Linked DNA regions of Homo sapiens: all the other regions are linked to region 3. The links are contacts of gene promoters, found by promoter capture Hi-C in blood cells and fetal thymus (Javierre and others, 2016). All regions are on one chromosome and are shown on one strand. Each heading gives the region's core, a stretch centred on a gene start or on the middle of the fragment in contact. The rest is flanking DNA. Distances are from core to core; before and after follow the strand shown. Region 1 overlaps BIVM-ERCC5 (BIVM-ERCC5 readthrough). Region 2 overlaps TEX30 (testis expressed 30). Region 3 holds the start of LIG4 (DNA ligase 4). Region 4 overlaps TM9SF2 (transmembrane 9 superfamily member 2). Region 5 overlaps LOC107984588 (a long non-coding RNA gene). Region 6 holds the start of FGF14-IT1 (FGF14 intronic transcript 1). Region 7 holds the start of TMTC4 (transmembrane O-mannosyltransferase targeting cadherins 4).

Region 1 (2,888 bases), core at 389-2,888, 5.4 Mb before region 3:
TTTTTACCCAGCTCACAGGCAGAAAAAAAAAAGTTTATTTAGATCAAATTCTGCAGCAATTCCTTTCCCTACTGCTATTACTGTTAAAGAACTGTGTGCCATCATTAGGCCAAGTTGGTGCAGCACCCAAAATACTTGCCAACTTGTCTTCTCCCAGACTGGAGGGGCTCAGGCAGCTCTTCTAGGATCCATCACATTCTGCATCTCAACTTTACCAATAACACTCCCACCCCTCCTGTACCAGCGATTCACTCAACAAACTAAATTATACACCATTACCAGGTCAGTTCTTAAATAGCTCAGCAGCAACAAGAACAACAAGATGTTGGTCGCATTCTAATTTTACTGGCAGAAACTGAGGGTTTCATTGGTGAAGAAACCTGCCTAGGATCACAGTGTCTTAGTTTCTCAGGGCTACCATAACAAAACACCACAGACAGGGTGGCGTAAACAACAGAAATTTGTTTTCTCATGGTTCTGGAAACTAGAAGTCCAGGAGCAGGCAGGTTTGGTTTCTTCTGAGGCCTGTCTCCTTCACCTGCAGAGGGCCGCCTTCTCACTGTGTCCTCACAAGGCCTTTCCTCTGTGCCTATCATCCCTGGAGTCTCTCCCTGTGGCCCAATTTCCTCTTTCTACAAAGACACCAGTCAAATTGGATTTAGGGCCTATCCTAATGGCCTCGTTTCAATTTAATCATTTTTAAACGCTGTGTCTTCAGATAGTCACATTCTGAGGTACTCAGGCTTCCACAGATGAATTTTGGAGGACACAATTCAGACCATAACACAAGGCAACATATGGTTCAGATGAGATCTGAATGAATGATCAGCCTAACCTCCAAGCAGATTCTTTCAGCAGACTGCAAGGTGCACTGGAGAGCTTTAGACTAGAGGCTTAAGAGGTCATTTAGGCAATATTTACAGAACTGCTAAGTGCCAGGATTGGGGGATGTAGCAGTCACGAAAATCGTTCTTCGTTTCAGTAAGTTTACAGTTTACCATGGGGAAGAGACAAATACTGAACAGGCAGTTATATTACTCTCAGTAAAATAACAACTGGGAACAGTTTCTGGGGATTACTTTACATATGGAGGAAATGCAAAAAACACTTTGTCAGGATTATTCCTGTAGCAAATTAGATGTGACTAGGTCAACCAAACATGGCCACTGTGAACCATCTTATTGAGCATAGAAGTGGTTTTGCTAAAAATGGATTTCTCCACGGAGCACGGTGGCTCATGTCTGTAACTCCAGCACTTTGGGAGACTGAGGCAGGAGGATTGTTTGAGACCAGTTTGGGCAACAAAGCAAGACCCTGTCTCAAAAAAAAAAAAATCAGGGCGTGGTGGTGGGGGCCTGTAATCTCAACTACTCGGGAGGCTGAGGCAAGAGCATCACTTGAGCCTGAGAGGTGGAAGTTGCAGTAAGCTGAGACTGCACTACTGCACTCTAGCCTGGGCGACAGAGTGAGACCCTGTCAAAAAAATAAAAAATAAAAAAATAAAAAAAATCAATTTCCCGTATACTTCTGTTATAAAGAAGTCTTTAAAAAATTGCCTGCTCCCTTAAGTCAGCCTTTTCACTGAGTTTAAATTTCGTTCCAATTTGAACAAATATGGATGCTAATACTATCCTTTATAGTTACTAGTGCTAAGTGCGTTGCATGTAACACCTTGAATACTTACTGAAGTCTGCAAGGTTGGTTTTATGCCCTGATTACTGATGGAGACACAAATTCTGAACAACTGTGACTTCAGGGATGCTAAACACCATAGTGAGGCACGATGCGGGGATTTGAATCTTGGCCTGAGGGTTCCAGAGCTGTGGCCTTTTCTGGGGTTACTCTGTTAATTGATTTCTAGTCCTTTCTGATCTACAAGCCGCGGCATTATAACTTTTAGATGCTGAAGAAAACTAAACTATATGTCAAGGATTAAGGCTTGTGAACCCCCAAAATTTGGGACAGGTCTCAGTTAATTTAGAAAGTTTATTTTGCCAACGTTAAGGACGCGCAGCTGTGACACAGCCCCAGGAAGTCCAGATGACATGTGCCCAAGGTGGTTGGGGCACAGATTGGTTTTATACATTTTAGGGAGACAGGAGACATCAATCAACATATGTAAGTACACTGGTTCCTTCCAGAAAGGTGGGGACAACTCGGAAGCAGGAAGGGCTTCTAGGTCACAGGTAGATGAGAGACAAAAGGCTGCATACGAGTTTCTGATAAGCCTTTCCAAAGGAGACAATCAGAATATGCATCTATCTCAGTGAGCAGAAGGATGACTGACTAGAATGGGAGGCAGGTTTTGCCCTGAGCAGTTCCCAGCTTGACTTTTCCCTTTTGCTTAGTAATTTTGGGACCCTAACATTTTCACAGGCTTTAAATTTTATTATTCTTTAGTTACTACGTGCTAGCATATAAATAAATAGTACAAAACCAAGAAGGCATCCACCTTTTGGTTGTCTCTTCACGTGTAAAACAACACTTTGTGTTAAGTATCTTCACACACGGCGGCGCAAAGGTAGAAACCGATACTAAAAAAGCGTGTAGAAAATAGTTCCCAGCCTGGGCAACACAGGGAGACCTCATTTCTACAAAAATAATTCGCCAAGCATAGTGGTGCGCACCTGCGGTCCCAGCTACTTGAGAGGCTGAGATGGGAAAGTTGCTTGAGCTCGGGCAGCAGGAGTTCCAGGCTGCAGTGAGCTAAGAATGCGCCACTGGACTCCAGTATGGGCGACAGCGTGAGACCCTGTCTCAAACAAAAACAAAAGCCCGTTACTCCACCAAGAAGGCGCTTTTGCACATTGTTTTAATGCTTAACGCCTTCAGGATGCCAGCGTGACGGAAGCAAGTAACCACCAAGGCATCACCACTGGCGCTAAACT
Region 2 (2,860 bases), core at 141-2,640, 5.5 Mb before region 3:
ATCCCTACCCCCGCCACTCCCAACCCAGTCAGGTGGAAAAATTGTCTTCCATGAAATGGGTCCCTGGTGCCAAAAAGGTTGGGGACCACTGCCCTAAGGGGTAAAGGTCCCCCCTGGGTGGGGAGCATTAGTCTAGGTGAGTGTTTATGAGGCAGGAGAACAGGGTCTGGAGGCAGAGAACCTAAGACCAATTCACCCTGACTTCCTACAACTAAGTTGATAGGAAAACCCCAACTTTCCATGCCTAAGTAACAAAAAGACCAGAGGCTACTCCCTTTGCAAACCCACACCTTATCTGTGCAGCAGATAGAAAATTGAAAGTTGGTTGCAAAATTGGTTGCTTTCTGCAAACAGACATTTGCATGGGAGTGTAACTTTGTAACTTCACTTCAGCCTCTGACTGGTTGCTTTCTGCAACCAATCAGACTGACTGTGGGCCACCACTTCATTTACATGGGGTGAACACCCAGGTAGACAATGGGAAACCTCTAGAGGGTGTTTGGGCCCCAGAAGATTCCTTTTCCAGGGTCCTTGAGCCGCTGCTTGGGCCCACTCCCACACTGTGGAGTGTACTATCATTTTCAACAAATCTATGCTTTCTTTGCTTCACTCTTTCCTTGCTTTGCTGTGCATTTTGTCCAATTCTTTATCCAAAACGTCAAGAACCTGGACAACTTGCAGTCAAGACCCCCTCAATAACAGCTATGCCATTAATTAGGGCCTACCAGAAGAGGTGCCAGAATGGCTCTTTGATTATAATCTCAAACTTGAAGGGGCTGAACATTTTCCTGCAAGGCGTGGTAAATCTATGGAGGAGAGCAGATGTGACCTTTTCCTAAATGTTCGTTTCTGCTGTGGATACATCATTCATCTTTCTCTAGGAGTTCTATGTTCCCCAAATATGGCTAGCTATACAGTCCTCAAATGTCAAGCCATTACATCAATAAGGAACAGTAGTTTCTTATAGAAAACTCAGGGGAAAATCAACTTTAAATGATCATCTACCTACATTACCCCTATATTTGATGTAGTATCTTTGGTCATCATATTATGCCTATAGTTTAATTTTGCAAACGCAAATATTGTAAATTGTATAGCCTGGTCAGTAGCCTTTTAAATGTTTTGTTGTACTCTAACATTATGTAATAAGTTGTCTTTTGTGTTTTCCTTGTCCTGTTAGCTTTACTTCTGGTTCACAATACTTATGTTCTTCAATGACTTATAGTGGTTAATAGACCAGTGATTCTATCTTCTTGATAGCTTTGGATATTTTTTATGTTTATCATCTTTTGATATTAGTAGTGTTTTAAAATTTCAAATGTTAATTATTGTTTACTTATACAACATTCTTAAAAATTTAGGTTCAGGAAATGACTTTTAGTCAAGAATATCTATTATAAATAGTCACAGGAATTTTAAATTTATAGTTATGCATCACTTTACAATGTGAAAGATTTGGACATTATTACCTACGTTTTCATTCTCTTTGTCATATTTAGAAAACTAATATTTTGAATCTACTGATTCCATCAGGGCAGAGGAATAAAGGGCCTCAAAAATCTGCAAGCTGCCCAGGCCACTTGAGGCTATTTTAATGGCCTAACATTAAGAGTAGTAGGGAGGATATGCAAAAGATTAAAGAAACATTTCTTACTACAAACTTCTATTTAAATTTAACATCAGCCTCATCACCTTTTGTGAATTTTACAGGAAATACAGAAACTATGTTCTTTATATATAACTCAATACCATTCAAGCTCGAGATCAGGTGATAGCTGAACTTTCCAAGGCAAAATTAAGTGCCCCAACTGCATAGATATAGCAAAGATGTTAGTACTACAATTTAGCAATTATTTCTCTCTTTAATCAGAGTAGTCTATTGATTTTACACACTATGTTGTGTTTTTGAGACACAGTCTCACTCTGTTGCCCAGGCTGGAGTCTAGTGGTGTGCTCTGGGCTCACTACAGCCCCCACTTCCTGGGTTCAAGCAATTCTTCCACCTCATCCTTCGAGTAGATGGGACTATAGATGTGTGCCACCATACTTGGCTAATTTTCGTATTTTTAGTAGAGACAGGGTTTTGCCATGTTGGCCAGGATGGTCTCGTAGAGACAGGGTTTTGCCATGTTGGCCAGGATGGTCTCAAACTCCTGGCCTCAAGTGATCCTGGCCTCAAGTGATCCGCCTGCCTCAGCCTCCCAAAATGCTTGGATTACTGATGTGAGCCACCGTGCCCAGCCTCACACACTATGTTGTAAGCTCCAAGTTTTTATTCATCTTTGCAAACCCAATGAGGTTTGCCTGTAATAAGCCTTCAGTGAACACTTCTTGAATTAAAGATCTTTATTTCATTCTAAAAAATCTTCAGGGTCCCCATATTTGAAACATATGTCCACTCCTATCCTTTCATTGTGATTTATTAAAAGATAAGGTGAAGAGATGTGTGCATTCTATAAATCTCTGACTAGATTAACCATAATGTTTTCCTTTTCTGAAGATAACGCTGCTCTGCAAAATTTCTCAGTTGCCTATCAATAAGACAAAAGCACCTTTTTGTAACAAAATTCAGATGTTTAATTTTTTTCAAAACTTAACTATACTAATGAAAATAAATTATATGTAGACCACCTTCAATATTTTTACATCATCTTTATACAACTGTAACAGTGCTTTCAAAAGACATTTTGTGAAGGACATTAATTTCACATTTAAAACGTGTTTCAAAAATAAGGGAACATTAAAGAACATCAAATTAGTCTGAAATATATCTCACAATGCTGAGAGGCATACTCTTCTTTATCAAATTAACTGTATGTGTACTCAAGATAACATGGCTTTTAACTAATGACATTTCTTG
Region 3 (2,902 bases), core at 305-2,804:
ACTCTTTAACAATAAGCAAAGCTTTCAGGAGAATGAATGCAAGCAATTAGTACACAATAACGATTCATCATTCATTCAGTTCTGACTAAATTGTCCTGAAGTGACACATGAAAATAAACCGGCAGGTTTTATTCAGTGACTATGGAAGGTGATTAAGTGCTATGCTATTGCACTTAAAAAAGAGAGAGGAAAAAAAGGAGTAAGTGACGAATGCAACTGAAGTATCCTTCATGCAACCCTTGACAAGCTGTGTTTCCCTAGGAAACAAAGGGTTTACAGCTGCCTATCTTCCACAGCACTTAGTGACAATTTGGGACAATCTCAGCAAAAAGAAATGAGCAGACAAAGACGCTAGAAGGGCTTTGGGATCCCAAAAGTTAATGAAAGACCAAGTGTAAGAAGAGAAATAAAGTAATTCCCTCCAAGCCTAAAGTCTCTCCCGCTCCAATGCCCCCTGTACCCTCTCGGAAAATGGAAAATCCCTAAGGAGTCTACATCATTCCTCTGCCCGTTCCCCCTACTCTCCCCCAACCCTTCACGGATTCCCAGTGAATACCTGGCCTCGGGCAAGCTCCGTTACCTCTGTGAACCAGAGAATCCCAGCTGTAAAATGAGATCTTGATGGTTTCCTGCGGGGTTGCCATGAGAAAGAATCAACATGTACGCAGGTAAAGCAGGCAATACAGTTCCAGGGAGTCAAAAACGGGAGAAATCGTCCCACGACCTGGGGCTTGGGTCTAGATGAAGAGCACAGCATCAGGAGGCCAGGCTTCTAATGCGGCGCAGTCTACAGCGCTGTGGACTCGGCAACTCCCATCACCTGCCGCTGCACAAACACCCTGCTTGCTGCCCCCATAGACCGACCCCCGCCTGACGCCTCCCAGACCCCCCCACCTGACGCCCCTCAGGCCCCCCGCCTGACGTCCCAGACACCCCCACGACCGGATCCCCCAGACCCCCAATCTGACGCCCCACTTCCCCTACTTGACTCCCCACACATCCCCCGCCTGACGACCCCCCGACCCCCGCCTGACGTCCCAGACACCACCCATCTGATCCCCCAGACCCCCAATCTGACGCCCCACACCCCCCACTTGACTCTCCACACACCCCACACCTGCCACCCCACGTAAACCCCGCCTGACACCTCACAGACCCTAACCTGACGCCCCACAGACCTCCCCCGCCTCCTGCCGCCACACACACCCCAAACCCCGCCCCGAACACCCCCCACCTGCCGCCCCACAGATTCCCCCCTCTGACGCCCCACAGACCCCCAACGTGACGCCCTACAGACCCCAACCTGACGTCCCACAGATACCCCGCCTGACGCCCCACAGACCTTCCCCCGGTCTGTTGCCCCACAGACTTCTCGCCGCCTGCTGGACCACACCTTCCACTTGACTCCCCCCACACCGTCAATCTGCCACCCCCCACCCCCCCCACCCCAACCCCCCCCAACCTCCCAACCGCCCCCACCTGCCACCCCACACCCTTCCCACCTGACGTCAAGCCTGAAGCTCAGCCGCTAAGCCGGAAGCTGGCGCCAGAAGATGCCGGTTCCGCCAGCTGCTCGCCGCGCAGGCGCAGGGGAGACCCGGGGCCTTGCAGTCACCGGGCTCAAGCACGCCGGCGCAGCCAGGCTCGCGATGGGAGGTGGGGGGGCCGGCAGCCCCGTGGGGCTGCGGAGGCGGGACCTGCAGGATCCTGGTTAGGGTCTTGAGTACACACGGCTCCTATTGGCCTCGGCAGCAGATGCTCTCTGCAAGCAGTTGATCCACACGCCAGTGGATTTTGTCTCGAGGGAGACCTAAGATCACTTTGTGCTCTGGCTAGTGATAGCCTCTAATTCTTGTTCTCTGTACGTAAAACAGTGGTAACTATACTGATTTCGCTGGTTGTGAAAACTCCCAAGAGAGAACAGGACATCCTCCCAACTCAAAACGTTGGTTGTTTCATTTAAACTTTTAAAAAATAGGCTTTTGCAAACTATATAGAGCTGTTTTTTTTTTTAAATGATGTTTGCTACTGTGGTCTCAGTTCTCTTAATACAGAAATAATACATAACAATACATAACTTACAATATAGAAATAAACCGTTGCATGACCAGAAATCAACTATGGACTCTTCTAGTATCTGTTTAAGGTTTAAAAATAAAGTTATTTAACAAACCTTTATTGAGCACCTATTATTATATAGTAATGGTGCTAGATATTCAGGGTGGAGAGATTATAAACAACCCCAGTTTTTGTGTTCCAGGAGCTGTTGGTTTCCACCGAATTTTTGCTGTGGTCAGTCCTCTTTCGCCATGGAGAAGTGAGAAGTTATTCATAAAGAGGGGTGGAAACAACTTTTAGAACTATTTTATTTTAGCATAAAATATTGCTTTACAATAAAATAAATTTTGCTGCAGTGGGCCCTGATAAAACATATTAGAGCTGTTAAGTGCCCTTAGAGGTTGTGTAATGTATAAAAACCTCCTTTTTCAAAACTGACACATTTCATTCAGTGCTAGTTTGTAGCGGAGGTTCCGTCTAGCCCAAGAACATTCAGTTATTTACTTCGTATGTCTAATTGACCTAATATGCCTGAATATCTAAAATCATCTGTGATGTTGTAAAGTCTCATGATATTGTTTTGTGAGTATCTGCTCTTCAATTTAGTTATCAATTTATTTTGGAGGAAAAATGAATAGTGTTAAGGTAGAGGAGCCTCCACTTGCCCATCTTAGGAGAGGGTACCTATCCGTGTACATTTGTAGCTTGTTCAACCTCTACTGAGCTCCTACAATGTCAGAAGCTGGACTTTGTATTAGTTACATGAGAAGAACCATGAATTATGAAACCAGGCAAACTCCAAATTGATTCAAAGCCCAGTCTCCATTTCATCATGTTATTTTAG
Region 4 (2,842 bases), core at 2-2,501, 8.7 Mb before region 3:
CCCGTCAACTTCTGCGACGAAGAAAAAAAGAGCGACGAGTGCAAGGTGGGTGAGGCCTGACGAGCCCTCTGATGCACTGTTGGAAGGGGAAGTCGTCCCTATCCGGGGGAGCTGATCCTCGGGTGGGAGCGAGGGAAGGGGGCGTAGCAGCGGGTGGGGTTGAGTTTCCCCAGAAGCTTTTGGGGTCTGCTGGGCTGTGGGTGGGGGGCTCTGAAACAGCCCTTGCAAGGGTAGTTTCTGGAGGACGCAGTGGGCCTCAGACTCGCCTCCCGTCTTGCGGGCCAAGTGGCACGAGCAGCTGTATTCAGTTTTCCTGGAACAGGGACCGTGTGGAGCGCCCTTGGAGTTGGGCTTCACGCCTCAGAGCTTTGGAGTTGGATGTATGCAGGTCCACGCGTGAGTGTTCGCTCACAGCCCTGTAACATGTACGCTGAGGAAGCGGGTGACCGACTCCCTACATGTGAGCAACACTCAGCCTAGTTAACAGTTTCCATTAGCTTTTAACTTCATTGCTTCCTGTTTAATTGCATTTTCCTGGAACCTTCTAGTTGGTTAGGAGAGCTTGTTCTTTCTAGGACTTTGATATCTCGCTTCACAATTAGAAGTTGGTTCCTTATTTGTGGAGTATAACACCCAGAGCCACACAAAGTGCATTAATAAAGAGTTGCTGTAATGGTTGAGGCACTTGATTTCTGAGTTTTAAGTGTAAAAGATTTTAATACACAAAAAAAGATACGAGGTCTCACTATTTTCTCTGAGATGGTTTTAAACACTTAAAAGGGGCAAATGGTGGGAGAAACTGGTGTTTTCCTAGGGCAAGTCTTGAAAACTTTGATCTCTTACAACATTCACACTCAAGGTTTTCAGTTTAATTGCTAGTAAAAGAGGCGTAAATAAAGTAACCTGCTTTTAGGTTATATGGTGTAGGGCTTTACAGTATACATACACAATTATTTCGTTAAGTTTATTTAAAACTTAACATTTGGGGGATGAGGATCTCTTTGAAACCTTTAATGATTTCAACAATTCAAATAATCGTTCAACAAACGTTTACAATCTATAAATAGGCTTATTTATTAAGTTTGATTTTTTTAAGCTGGTGTTTATTACAGTTAGCTTTACTATAGCTGTGAATTTTGAGGTTATTTTAGGGCATTAGATAAGCTTTAAATTTTTCATAACATTTTGCAGTTTCTTTTTAGGTTGTCAGCTATCTTGAATGACATGTTTATACATCTGTGCAAAACCTTGTATCTGAAAAAATATCTAAGGATATTTAAGGTTTACTCAAGTCTGCAGTTAGTGTTTCAGTACTTAAGTTCATACTCTGCAGTGCAAGAAGCTTTCACTCCTTTTTGAGGATTCTGACTGAAAGACTGTTGTTGTGCTTCCAAGTGGAAGATCTAGACTTGCAAGTACACTGGTTTTTCCATTAAATATTTTAGTAACCAACCTTTAAGGCCTAGTGTTTGGTCTTACTTTAACAGCAGTTGTATATTCTATTCCTAGTGCCTCAAAGATGAAAAATATATTTCCTGCCCTCTGGGAACCTCAAAGTAAGGGACATAAGCTTATGAACAGATTATTGAAATCTGATCTGTTACACAGGATGATGTCCAAAGTGTGCTAAAACAAAATGAGGAAACATCAGTGGACTAGAGTCTTTAGGGAAAGCTCTATAGAAGAAGTGACAGGGCCAGGTGTGGTGGCTCACGCCTGTAATCCCAACACATTGGGAGGCCGAGGCGGGTGGATCACCTGAAGTCAGGAGTTTAAGACCAGCCTGGCCAATATGGTGAAACCGCGTCTCTACTAAAAATACAAAAATTAGCTGGGCGTGGTGGCGGGCATCTGTAATCCCAGCTACTCGGGAGGCTGAGGCAGGAAGAATCGCTTGAACTCTGGAGGTGGAGGTTGCAGTGAGCTGAGATCGCGCCATTGCACTCCAGCCTGGGCAACAGAGCGAGACTTTGTCTCAAAAAAAAAAAAAAAAAAAAAAAGAAGAAGAAGTGACATTTGAGATGGACTTAGAAAATGAATAAGTGAAACTTATAGGTGGTCTTCCAGTTAGATGATTGTTTTCTCAACAGGTCCTTTGGTAAGTGGCTAGGTTGTATTCTAGTTATTTTTTAGTTAATCTTGGGAGTCATTTTGGATGTTTAATTTTCATAGGTATAGGGATAAAACAGGCAGAGCAGATCATTTTTCCGAAATGTTTGGATTTTTATCTTTATTGCCAGCTACACTCACATCTGGTTAATGGAAACAACTCTTAGAAGAGCAGGAGGGTGTACTTTCAGCTTTTTTCCTGCGATATGACTAACTGGTGTAGAGAATTTGAAATACACTTTAATATTTATTTTCTTTGCCTTTCAAAGAAGATGCTATAAATAACAGTAAACAGTTGAAATTTGTATTACTTCAATCAGGATGTTAATAATTTATTCTCATCTATTTCGTATTTGTTAAGGAGGACAGTCTTGTACACATTATTCAGAAAAGTGGAAGGAACTTCTTTTAAAAATTAGAAATGAGAGTTGTGAAATGGAAATAATTTTTTCCAAAAGATGCTGTTAAGTTAGTGAATCTGAAGTTGGAGAAATTGGGCAGGTCATTGATACTGTTACCAACAGTTTTTCCATCTGTAAAATAGGGATAATCATATTTGATTATGACATATTCCCCTTGAAAGGTATTTTGCATTTCTTAGAGGAAAAGTGCAATATTTGTCATTGTTGTGATAGTGTAGAGATGAAACAAATATATCTTCAACTTATATATAATTTAGGTAGTAGAGTGTTTTTATGTACTGTAAAGTTTGTCTCATGCATTTAGCTCAGGA
Region 5 (3,103 bases), core at 509-3,008, 5.6 Mb before region 3:
AAACTGCTTAGTTTACCATTTTATTACTGGAGGCTCAAGTACCTGGAACTTGATGTTGTGTAGTTTACTTTGGTTTGGAGGTATGTTAGCAAAGTGGATATTTGTCACGATTTCCTGGCATCATTGGAAAGCTTTCCTATGTTTATGGAATTTCCCACATTTTCAGTCCTGCTCTCCAGGTAAGAAATCAGAACTACTTGATCAGGCTTCCATACAGCCAGGCACGGCCTTGTAACTTAAACTTTGCTGATCAGGTCGCCCTGGCTTTTGGACTCAGTTATCTTTGGTAGAAACGGTAACGACGGCTTTTGCCTTTGGGGGGCAGCAGTGGCGAACCTTCATGCATCCGAACCTGTTTCTTTGGTGTGAGCTATTTTAGTTTCGGGTCCTCGGGGTGGGGGCGGACGTGTTGTGAGGAGCAGGGATACGTGTTAGTGCCTGCGCGAGGTCAGGTAGTCAAGGGTCCACAAAAAGCTGAGAGAGGCATCAGGCCGCGATGCAAGTCTGACGCCGAGTAAATAGGAGAGGCAGAGAGGCTGGGTGGAAGCGCCCTGGACCACCACGCAGTCCAACTTGGCAAAGCCGGCCGGGGAGTCCTGGAGCCTGAGACAGCAGTCCGCGAAATTGCCCGCCTCCCGAAACAGATCTGCTCCAGCATCCCTTCGCTTCCATCACGGGCTGGGAGCCGCCCACGGGAGGTGCGGCCTCGCTGCAAGGCAGAGGAAGATTTCAAAGCCCAGCGGCTGGCACATGTAGGATGCTTATGCAATCTCTAGAGTCTTGGAAAATTAAATTTTAAAATATTCTCTAAACGATAGGCTGCAGCAATAGTTGCAAGGAAGGCGATTCATAGAAAGCTATTGCCTTCCACAGCACCTGTGCCTTGGATTGCAGCCTCAAATGGGGCAGGTGACAGGAAAAACATCTGACTCAGCACTTCCTGCTTTGAACAATGCTGGGTGAGAGAAGTTGCTGTGCGTCCAGCCTATTATTAATACTTTACCCTCCATAAGATGACCAACGCCTAGGCCTACTGACCTTGTTTTTGCCTCTCCTCCTCCTCCTCATTTTTTTTTGTTTTATTATTATATATTATTACAGATTATCCATGTTTCTCTACTTATACTCTCTACTTGTTTCCAATATCCAATGAACTGTCACACAAACTGTCTTAGCATTAAAAATTCCCCCCAGTGATAATGTCATTAAATCAAAGGAGGAAAAAATGTAAGCACTTATAATATGTACAACATTTGGCTTGAAGACAAACAGTAAATGACTGTATTGAGTTAAAGTGATTTCAGGGGTTATATAAAATAGTGGGTTTCAAACTGGTACATGGATAGTTTCGATGAAATCAATTTCCAGATGCCTGAAGTCAACCACTTTTTTCTAAGCTTATCTGCCTGGCAGCGTGCCTGTGGCGGAAAGACATGATTCTCTTTTGCACCTATTTCAGTGCTGGGTCTCCCACCTTTTAGGGAAAAGGAACACATCCCGAATCTTACTATTATGCACCACCTGCAGGTGTAATAGCCTCTGGGGCATCAAATAACGGGACAATTTGAAATACTATCACTAAAACTTTATTTAATATCAAAGTTCAATAACCAATCCTATCCATCTTTTTTTAAAATCAAGAACAATTTTTGTTAAGACCACAATTAGCAAAAAAAAGTTACAGCATTTTTGAAACATTCCACAATCTATTATGAGGAACAAGGGCTAGGGAACAAACACCAAAGCATAACAGCATATGCTCTGCTGTGTGTTATGTTAAACCACTTTTCATTTGTCTCATTAAATCCATCTTTTCTACAATTTAAGCAAAGGTTATAGAGCAAAAGATGACATTTGTCATATGAGTGATTCTTAAAATGGGAGCTTCAACGTACGTCTGAATTTTGTTCACATTACTTTCTGGGCATATTATGTAATACTTATATATCCTGGTTTCGCTTCTTAAGAATTGATGATTCAATTTTACAAGAGACACAGACATACAAATCTTATCCTTTTAACTAGTCCTGTCATTAACAGAAGCATGACTTATTTATACCAAGCATCTTTTTAAGAGCTCTATTTTCAATAAAAATTTTTTTGTCCTGTAATTTTTAATCAAAGCTTAAGACTTACTCATGTTGTTGTAATCAACTTTGTAATAACTGAAAGATAACCCAAAAGAATAAGTTTAACATTTTTCTTCCAGGAAAATTTTTAAAATTAATATATTTTTATTGCAGATGATGATACATTATCAATATGCCTTTCCATTATAAATGCAAATTACAATGAGAAAAAATTCCATATAGAATGGAAATAAAGTTTCCAGAAGAAATAGTGATATAAAATGTCTGCTTTTAAGTGTTCAGATATTTTATAAATAGTTGATGGTAGCTATCAGAGTTACACTCAACTGGGTATATTTACATGAGAAACGTGAAAGTTTCATTAAATAATGACGATATTTATACTATGCCAGAAATTACATCCTTTATAATTTTTAAAATTTATGATAGGCCGGGCGCAGTGATTCACGCTTGTAATGCCAGCACTTTGGGGGGCCGAGGCGGGTGGATCACCTGAGGTCGGGAGTTCGAGACCAGTCTGACATCAACATGGAGAAACCCCGTATCTATTTAAAAAAATACAAACATTAGCTGGGTGTGGTGGCACATGCCTGTAATCCCAGCTACTTGGGAGGCTGAGGCAGGAGAATCACTTGAACCCCGGGAGGTGGAGGTTGCAGTGAGCCGAGATCCCGCCATTGCACTCCAGCCTGGGCAAGAAGAGCAAAACTCCATCTCAAAAAAAAAAAAAAAAATTGTGACAAATTTAGACTTCATTTTACAGCTGTACAAAGGGATACATAACTTTTTTAAAAACATGTTTATGGGATATGTAAGCAAAAAAAGAAAAATCTGGCCGGGTGCAGTGGCTGATGCCTGTAATCTGAGCACCTTGGGAGGCCGAGGTGGGTGGATCCCCTAAGGTCAGGAGTTCAAGACCAGCCTGGCCAACATGGCGAAACCCCGTCTCTACTAAAAATACAAAAACTAGCCAGGTGTGGTGGCATGCACCTGTAATCCCAGCTACTCGGGAG
Region 6 (2,934 bases), core at 121-2,620, 5.8 Mb before region 3:
GAAGTTTACTTACAATCAGGACTGGGTGTGAACGTTATGGGAACCTAGAATATTAGAGCTGGGGCTGATCTGGGATTACTCTAATCAATATCCTTCTTGTAGTAGCCGAGGGGACTGAAGCCCAGAAAACTTCAGGACCCGCCCAGGGTCTCCCAGTAGCTAGTGTGTAAGCTGAGACCAGAACTTGGCTCGTTCTCTCCCAGTCCTGAGCTTGGGCAGAATCACCAGCAACGCCAGCTCCCTTCCCTTTCCTTCAGATGGGTCTCGGGTCCAGAGCTGGCGCCCGCTAGCGGGAGGCCAGACCGGGAGGGCCAAGGCAGCCACCTGTGGCTTTCCCATCCCTCAGGTCCAGCAGTGCACATGGGGTGCCCCCGCGTCAACGCCGGAGGAGTGACCTTGCAAACCCGCGCCCCGCGGGCGGCAGAGCCGGCCGCTCACTGCCCGGTCCCCGGCCACCACGGAAGAGCGAAGATCTCTGCCAGGGCAGGAGCCCTAGCCCCGACCCGCGCCCCAAGTCTCTCCCGCGCGGCGGCTTCCGGCCGCCATGGTTTCCATAGCAACAACAGCACAAGCTGCCGGGTCCCAGAGACGCCCTAGGGTCAGAGGTCATCTCCGTGGCAACGGAAACTTCCCGCGCTACGGCGGCTCCAACGGGCCGCTTCCGCCGCATTGCGTAGCGAAGCCCCCGGCGAGCCGAGGCTGGGAGCGCGGTGATGGCCGGTCCCCGTGAGCAGAGGGCAGCGGCGGCGGGACCGGGGACTCTGGGCCAATGGGTAAAGCCAGGAGGAAGCCCGTGCCTGGCCCGTTGGGCTCCCTCCTCCTCAGAGCCGAAGCAGTCCACACTCGGAACCCAGCTTCACCCGGATTACCGAGGGGTTCCACGCCTGGAGGCAGAGCTGCAGCGTGGGCCCGCTCGCGGCTTTGCAGAAAACAAATAATGACACACTTCTCTGGAAGCCCGGGGCCTGGGCCCAGAGCCGTGGCTTCTGCCAAACTTTCTGGTCCCGGACACCAACTCCCCGCCTCTCAGCCCGAGGCCACAGCGGCCCAGCACCCTGCACCTTTTAAAGTGGCTCCAAAAAGGAGAAAGCCAAATAGATCAGGGTGGTAGGCGCGAGTGCAGGGAGCTGCGAAGTTGGAAGATTACTGCTTTTCAAACTGCCAAAGAGCAAAATACTAAGCGAGAAACTCCGTCCAAAGCAACTGGAACTCGAGGTTCTTTACTAATGAGAGTTCCAGTTACCATCTTCAGAGAAAGGAGCTCAAAAGAGGGAGTTTATTTTTTGCGGAATGTCTTCCTTGTTAAGAAGAAAATTAAAGATTAAAAAAGAAAATGAAGGGTCTGGCAACTATGAACCTAATGGTGCCCTAACGTTTGCTATTCTAAGGCCGAGAATGCCAGATGGGGAGAACGCCATGAGCTTTTGAGCTTGTGTATTTTGCGAGAGGCTCGAGTGTGAACAGTAGACTACAGGCCTTGAGACTGAGAAGGAAGCTATAAAATGTGGGCCAAGGGAATGTCTGCAGGACCGGGTTTCAGAGCACCCTATCGTGGCGGATAAAGAGCCACTAACAGCTTTTTTCTTTATTTAGTAGCCAAATTCTTGGTTGGCGCTTTGAGAAAGGAGTAAGCATTAAGCGAATTTAACCAAGTAAAATGTATCGTCCTGCCCTTTGTAGTCCCATAGTTCACTATCCTAGAGATACCTATTTTTCACTATTTTATTAAAGTGTATTGAAAACCTACCATGTGTCGTGAACAGAGTTTTTGTCAAGAGACAGTGACAAAGGCAGTGGTGCCCAGCAGTTGTTGGGTGACTTTCTTACATGATGTTACCAGACTAATCAAACAAGAACTTCACTGTTCCCTATAAAACATGTCTGCGACATTCATCCTTTTTGCCTTCAAGTTTAGGAAGTCCCTAAGAATCCCTCCTTTTGTTCCCTTCTCTTCATCATCCTACCTTTTACATTCTGACCAAAGTAAAAAAAATAGTGGCAGCTAGAGAACTACACAGGGAAAACATCAGGACATAGTTGGTCTTGATACAAAAGAGCTATTGCATCTCTAGAGGTATACGGGGAGCTGAGAAGTCTCCCTCAGAAAACTCCATGCCCTTCAGTACCCGGGTTCAACACATAACTAAACCTTGTACCTGGTACACAAGTCCTAAGGAACACCACACAGACTATGGCAGTGAGCAGGCAGATGTGTAAATAGGTGTTTCCCTGTCCCTATTTACAGGAGGTAAATAGTATTACCTCCACAGTCCCTCCTGGAGGTAATACTGAGTTGGGCTCAAAGGTTTTATTAAAAATAGGCACAGTGCAATGACTTGTTTAACACTGAAGAGAAGAGCTCCTGTTAGACTGTTCAAACAGCCCAACTGTTTCCCCTTAAGGCAAAAGACACTATTTTGAATAAATGCTTCCATTTTGAGACATCTACGTGGTATTTATAGAAGGCGTATGAGTCAATTTGAGTGAGGTATGATGCCAAAATGTGCAAAGGAGTGAAAACATTGGTTGTTGTCCTTGTTACCATATGTATAAAAACACTTCACAAAAGTCTCCAATGTTTGTGTTGCTAAAACATGGAAGACTGGGTTCGAACATTTTAAAGGAATGGTTCATTGTAGGAAACGTGAAGTATAGTATAGAATTAGCTTTAGCACTTTCAGAAAGTACTGCATCATTTGAACAAATTTTCTCAGTTATGGATGCTGTCTAAGATGAGAACAAGTTGTACAGCCAAAGTCATCTTCATTGTTAAAACTAAGTTTAGATTATCATGCATTGAATTTTACACTTATTAACTGGGATATACATTTCAAAAAAGAAAAATCTACTCTCCCAACAAGGCAGTACTCCGAAGCCTACCTAAAATGCCATCCTTTGGTTCATGGAGTGGCACTGCTCTACAAAACCCATTTT
Region 7 (2,983 bases), core at 217-2,716, 7.5 Mb before region 3:
GGAAAAATTAGCAGCAGCCACCTACAGAAGAATATTCCCCTCCATGCATCCAGGGGCCTGCTGACCTCTGCCCAGCCTTTCTACCTCATCTGTAACATTCAATCACATAGCCAGCCATCCTATGCACGCTGAGAGGTGACAGCGCCTCTGGGAATCAGATTAGAGAACACAATCGTTTGTGACCCTGCATCCCTGGGCCTGGCAGTTTCCTGACTGATCAGACCCTGGGCCCCTCAAGGCAGGGGCGCGAGCCACCACCACCGCCCTCCTCCGTGCAGTGCTGAATACATGCTACTGAAGGCTAAGGTATCGTCCTGCTGTGACGGCCTTCCCATTTTATAATTCAGTAGCGCACGAGGGCCATGGCTGCCTATAGCAAGAATGTGTGTGGTTTGATATTCACAGTTCCACTGTCCCAGAAAGTTTCCAGTTTGCTAGCTTGTAGCCATTTCCCCTATCTAGGTGCACTGGCCGTGATTTTACCCCACTCCATCTGGGGCGCGCCCGGCGCAGACAGGACTGCAGAGAAAAGGGACAGGGAGGGGACCTAGTCAGTCCCTACTATAACTGTTTCTCAAGACATTCTCCCCATGCATTTATTTGCTCTCCCGGGGAAAGAGCGAAGTGTGGGATGACTCATAGTGGCTAGATCGTTCCTCTAACTCCTCCCTTCTTTTGTGTGTGGTTTAAAAAAAAGAAAAACACACACGCAGCCCATAGCCACAACATCAACAAGACCAGAAGCCCCGCAGAGTTCGCAGGAGGTGGGCAGTGGCTGCGCCACCTGCTCGGCTTCCCCAAACTCCGAGCCCACGCCGGGAAGCGGCGGCTCGGTGGCCCCGGGCGCCCGGGCCGGTGGCCCCGCGCTCGCGCCGCTCCGCTCCGCAGCCGAGCGTGGAGTAGCAGGCGCTCGCGGCGCGGCGGGGGAGCCGCCGCGGAACCCAGGGCAGGCGGCCAAGCGGCCCGGCTGTGTCCAGCCATCGCCTGCGCCGCGGCCAGCTGGCGGCCAGGCGCGGGGCCCCGCGGCCAGATGGCCGCTCCGGGGACGCGCCGCAGGCGCCGGGTGCGCCCGGGCCGAGGGAGCGCCGGCGCGGCTGTGCAGGCAGGGGCTGGGGGCGGCGACCTCTGCCCGGGCGGAGAAGCTCAGGGGCCCGAGCGCGGCGGGCGGGGCGCGCAGCCTCCACGCCGCGCCCTTTGTCCCATGTGCGGCTCACACAGGGGCCCGCGTCCCCCGTGACCCCGGCCCGGGCCGCAGCTCAGGTCCCGGAACCAACTCCTCCAGCAGCGCCGCTCTGGCCCGGGCCGCCGTGCGGGGCTCGGGACACGGCGGCAGCGGGGAACCCGCGCCCGCTCCGCGTCCAACTCCGCTCGCCCCGCGGCGCGCTCGGCCCTGCAGGGGCCGCCCCGCGCGTTACCTGCAAGGAGCCTGAGCCCCGGCCGCATCTCCCTCCCGGGTGCGGAAACTCTGGCGGCTCCAGGCACCCGCCCGGACCTGGCAGGGGGAGGGGCCGCCCGCCGCGCACCCGACCCCCCCCGCGCCGCGCCTCCCGCAGCTCCCCACGCGCGCGGGCGCCCCCCAGCACCAGTCTCGGCCCGCCCCCTCCGCCCGACCATTGGCTGCTGCTCCCGTCACTTTCAGGCCACAGCCAAGTCCCTCCTCAGCTCATTGGCGGACGCGCCGGTGACGTCAGGCCAGGGGGCGCTAGTCGGCGGCGAAGGAGGCGCAGGGACAGACGGACCCGGCGGGAGAGGAGGAAGCCGGGTTGTGGGCGCGGAGCTGAGGCGGAGGCGGGGCCGGGGCGGGAAGGGGCGGCCCCAGCTGGGTCGGGCGAGGCTGGCTGCGGGAAACCGAGTGAGCCCTCGCTTTTCCTCCGGGGTCCGCGCGCGGGACCCTATTTCTGGCCTGTCTCGCGCTTCGCCTGCGCGGTGGTCTCCACGCTGGGACTGCGGCGTCCTCGCAGAACAGCCAGAACTCCACTTCTTCCTGTCCGGGAGGAGTTGTTTAAAACATGCGTATCTCCACCTTCTGCTTCTTAGAACAGAACTGACTGAAGCCGTGTTCTTCCCGCCGAGACCATGCCGCCCCATCGACCCTGCTGCGGCCAGAGCCACCCAGGGCGGGCCCACTCACCGCAGGCTCGGGCCACTTGGTTCCAAACCTCCACTCCCATCCAGGGGCCCGGCACACCCACCACACTCCCACTCTCAGAGGTCTTTGCCGCCTGCTTCAGGAGAAAAGAGAAACTTCCACTTTCCACCGGCAAAACTGCACACCTGCTCCCTCCATCACCGAGCCCCCCCCCCCACCTTCTGTTTTTCCAGTATCGCAGAATCCGATCCGTTGCTCCCTCTGGACTGGAATCCGTATCCTCGGCATTTCATCATTCCAAGATTCTCTACTCCACGTACCCTTGCTGCCACCCTCTTCTACTTTCCATCGCTGAAGTTGGTGAAAGAGGCGCCTGCCCCCAGTTTTGTGGTCTCTCAACTCCACGTGTTCGTTTTCACACTCGGTGAAATTGCCTTTTTAATTGTCGCAAGTAGCATCCACATCACTAAAGTCAAAGGACACTCTCCTTTCTCGTGTTAACTGATCTGAGCAAAATTCCTTCTTTCTCCTTAAAACACGTCTTCCTGTGGCGGGGGTGCTCCACTTTCCTGTCTGTCCCCAGTCTTGGCGTGCTTGTCTACTCTGGGTGACCACCAAATAACAGAGTTTTCAAGGTCTCAGACCTTTCCTCTTACTCCACAATTTTTCCCTGAATGATTTAACCTGCTGTCAACATTTAAATCAATATATCCCAAATTTGCAACTCTAATCTTTGCTCCTCTGAGCTCCAAATCCGTTTATCTAGCTTCCTATTCAGCTACTCCTGGTAACAAGCACCTCAAATGGAACCCATCCAAAACTGAATGCGTCCTTTCCCTGCTTGCTTTCAACTCCCTGTCTCCCTGTGATAGTGAAGACACCACTATCCAGTGT

The links. The method cuts DNA at HindIII sites, captures the fragments that hold promoters and counts their contacts. A CHiCAGO score of 5 or more calls a contact.
Region 1: a fragment that was not itself captured here is called in contact with the fragment with the promoter of LIG4 in region 3 in 1 of 17 cell types (fetal thymus); the score reaches 11.9 in fetal thymus.
Region 2: a contact is called between a fragment that was not itself captured here and the fragment with the promoter of LIG4 in region 3, in 1 of 17 cell types (fetal thymus). The highest score is 6.1, in fetal thymus.
Region 4: a contact is called between a fragment that was not itself captured here and the fragment with the promoter of LIG4 in region 3, in 1 of 17 cell types (fetal thymus). The highest score is 5.6, in fetal thymus.
Region 5: a fragment that was not itself captured here is called in contact with the fragment with the promoter of LIG4 in region 3 in 4 of 17 cell types (fetal thymus, total CD8 T cells, total B cells and 1 more); the score reaches 12.9 in fetal thymus.
Region 6: a contact is called between a fragment that was not itself captured here and the fragment with the promoter of LIG4 in region 3, in 1 of 17 cell types (fetal thymus). The highest score is 7.6, in fetal thymus.
Region 7: the fragment with the promoter of TMTC4 here is called in contact with the fragment with the promoter of LIG4 in region 3 in 1 of 17 cell types (fetal thymus); the score reaches 7.2 in fetal thymus.

What each region holds. Positions count from the first base shown.
Region 1 is chr13:102,842,854-102,845,741 of GRCh38, forward strand. All of the region lies in intron 9 of BIVM-ERCC5 (BIVM-ERCC5 readthrough), which reads left to right. Among named protein-coding and RNA genes, the nearest start is that of ERCC5, 1.7 kb to the right of the region's middle. RefSeq lists enhancers at 2,109-2,888, 2,518-2,567, 2,778-2,888. The HindIII fragment of the contact is 8,959 bases long and covers 1-2,888 here.
Region 2 is chr13:102,763,557-102,766,416 of GRCh38, forward strand. It overlaps TEX30 (testis expressed 30), which reads right to left. Exons shown (of 6, transcript NM_138779.5): 6 at 2,332-2,860. The coding sequence ends at 2,845. The region is part of intron 2 of LOC105370337 (a long non-coding RNA gene); the gene reads left to right. Among named protein-coding and RNA genes, the nearest start is that of LRTM3, 5.9 kb to the left of the region's middle. The HindIII fragment of the contact is 7,460 bases long and covers 1-2,860 here.
Region 3 is chr13:108,213,982-108,216,883 of GRCh38, forward strand. It overlaps LIG4 (DNA ligase 4), which reads right to left and starts at 1,555. Exons shown (of 3, transcript NM_206937.2): 1 at 1,503-1,555; 2 at 557-629. RefSeq lists an enhancer at 1,480-1,774 and a silencer at 1,618-1,757. The HindIII fragment of the contact is 5,824 bases long and covers 20-2,902 here.
Region 4 is chr13:99,501,733-99,504,574 of GRCh38, forward strand. It overlaps TM9SF2 (transmembrane 9 superfamily member 2), which reads left to right. Exons shown (of 17, transcript NM_004800.3): 1 at 1-45. Among named protein-coding and RNA genes, the nearest start is that of TM9SF2, 1.7 kb to the left of the region's middle. RefSeq lists an enhancer at 1-120. The HindIII fragment of the contact is 178 bases long and covers 1,163-1,340 here.
Region 5 is chr13:102,591,767-102,594,869 of GRCh38, forward strand. LOC107984588 (a long non-coding RNA gene) reads right to left here. Exons shown (of 2, transcript XR_001749984.3): 2 at 1,571-2,635. Among named protein-coding and RNA genes, the nearest start is that of TPP2, 3.7 kb to the right of the region's middle. RefSeq lists enhancers at 133-682, 223-442, 473-802, 683-1,230 and a silencer at 272-447. The HindIII fragment of the contact is 727 bases long and covers 1,396-2,122 here.
Region 6 is chr13:102,393,959-102,396,892 of GRCh38, forward strand. FGF14-IT1 (FGF14 intronic transcript 1) reads right to left here and starts at 561. Exons shown (of 4, transcript NR_036486.1): 1 at 396-561. It overlaps FGF14-AS2 (FGF14 antisense RNA 2), which reads left to right and starts at 620. Exons shown (of 1, transcript NR_036487.1): 1 at 620-1,747. It also overlaps a transcript of FGF14 not described here. RefSeq lists an enhancer at 467-696. The HindIII fragment of the contact is 3,160 bases long and covers 1-2,934 here.
Region 7 is chr13:100,673,329-100,676,311 of GRCh38, forward strand. It overlaps TMTC4 (transmembrane O-mannosyltransferase targeting cadherins 4), which reads right to left and starts at 1,467. Exons shown (of 19, transcript NM_032813.5): 1 at 1,416-1,467. RefSeq lists enhancers at 1-732, 2,058-2,137 and silencers at 848-927, 978-1,337, 1,368-1,867. The HindIII fragment of the contact is 7,703 bases long and covers 1-2,983 here.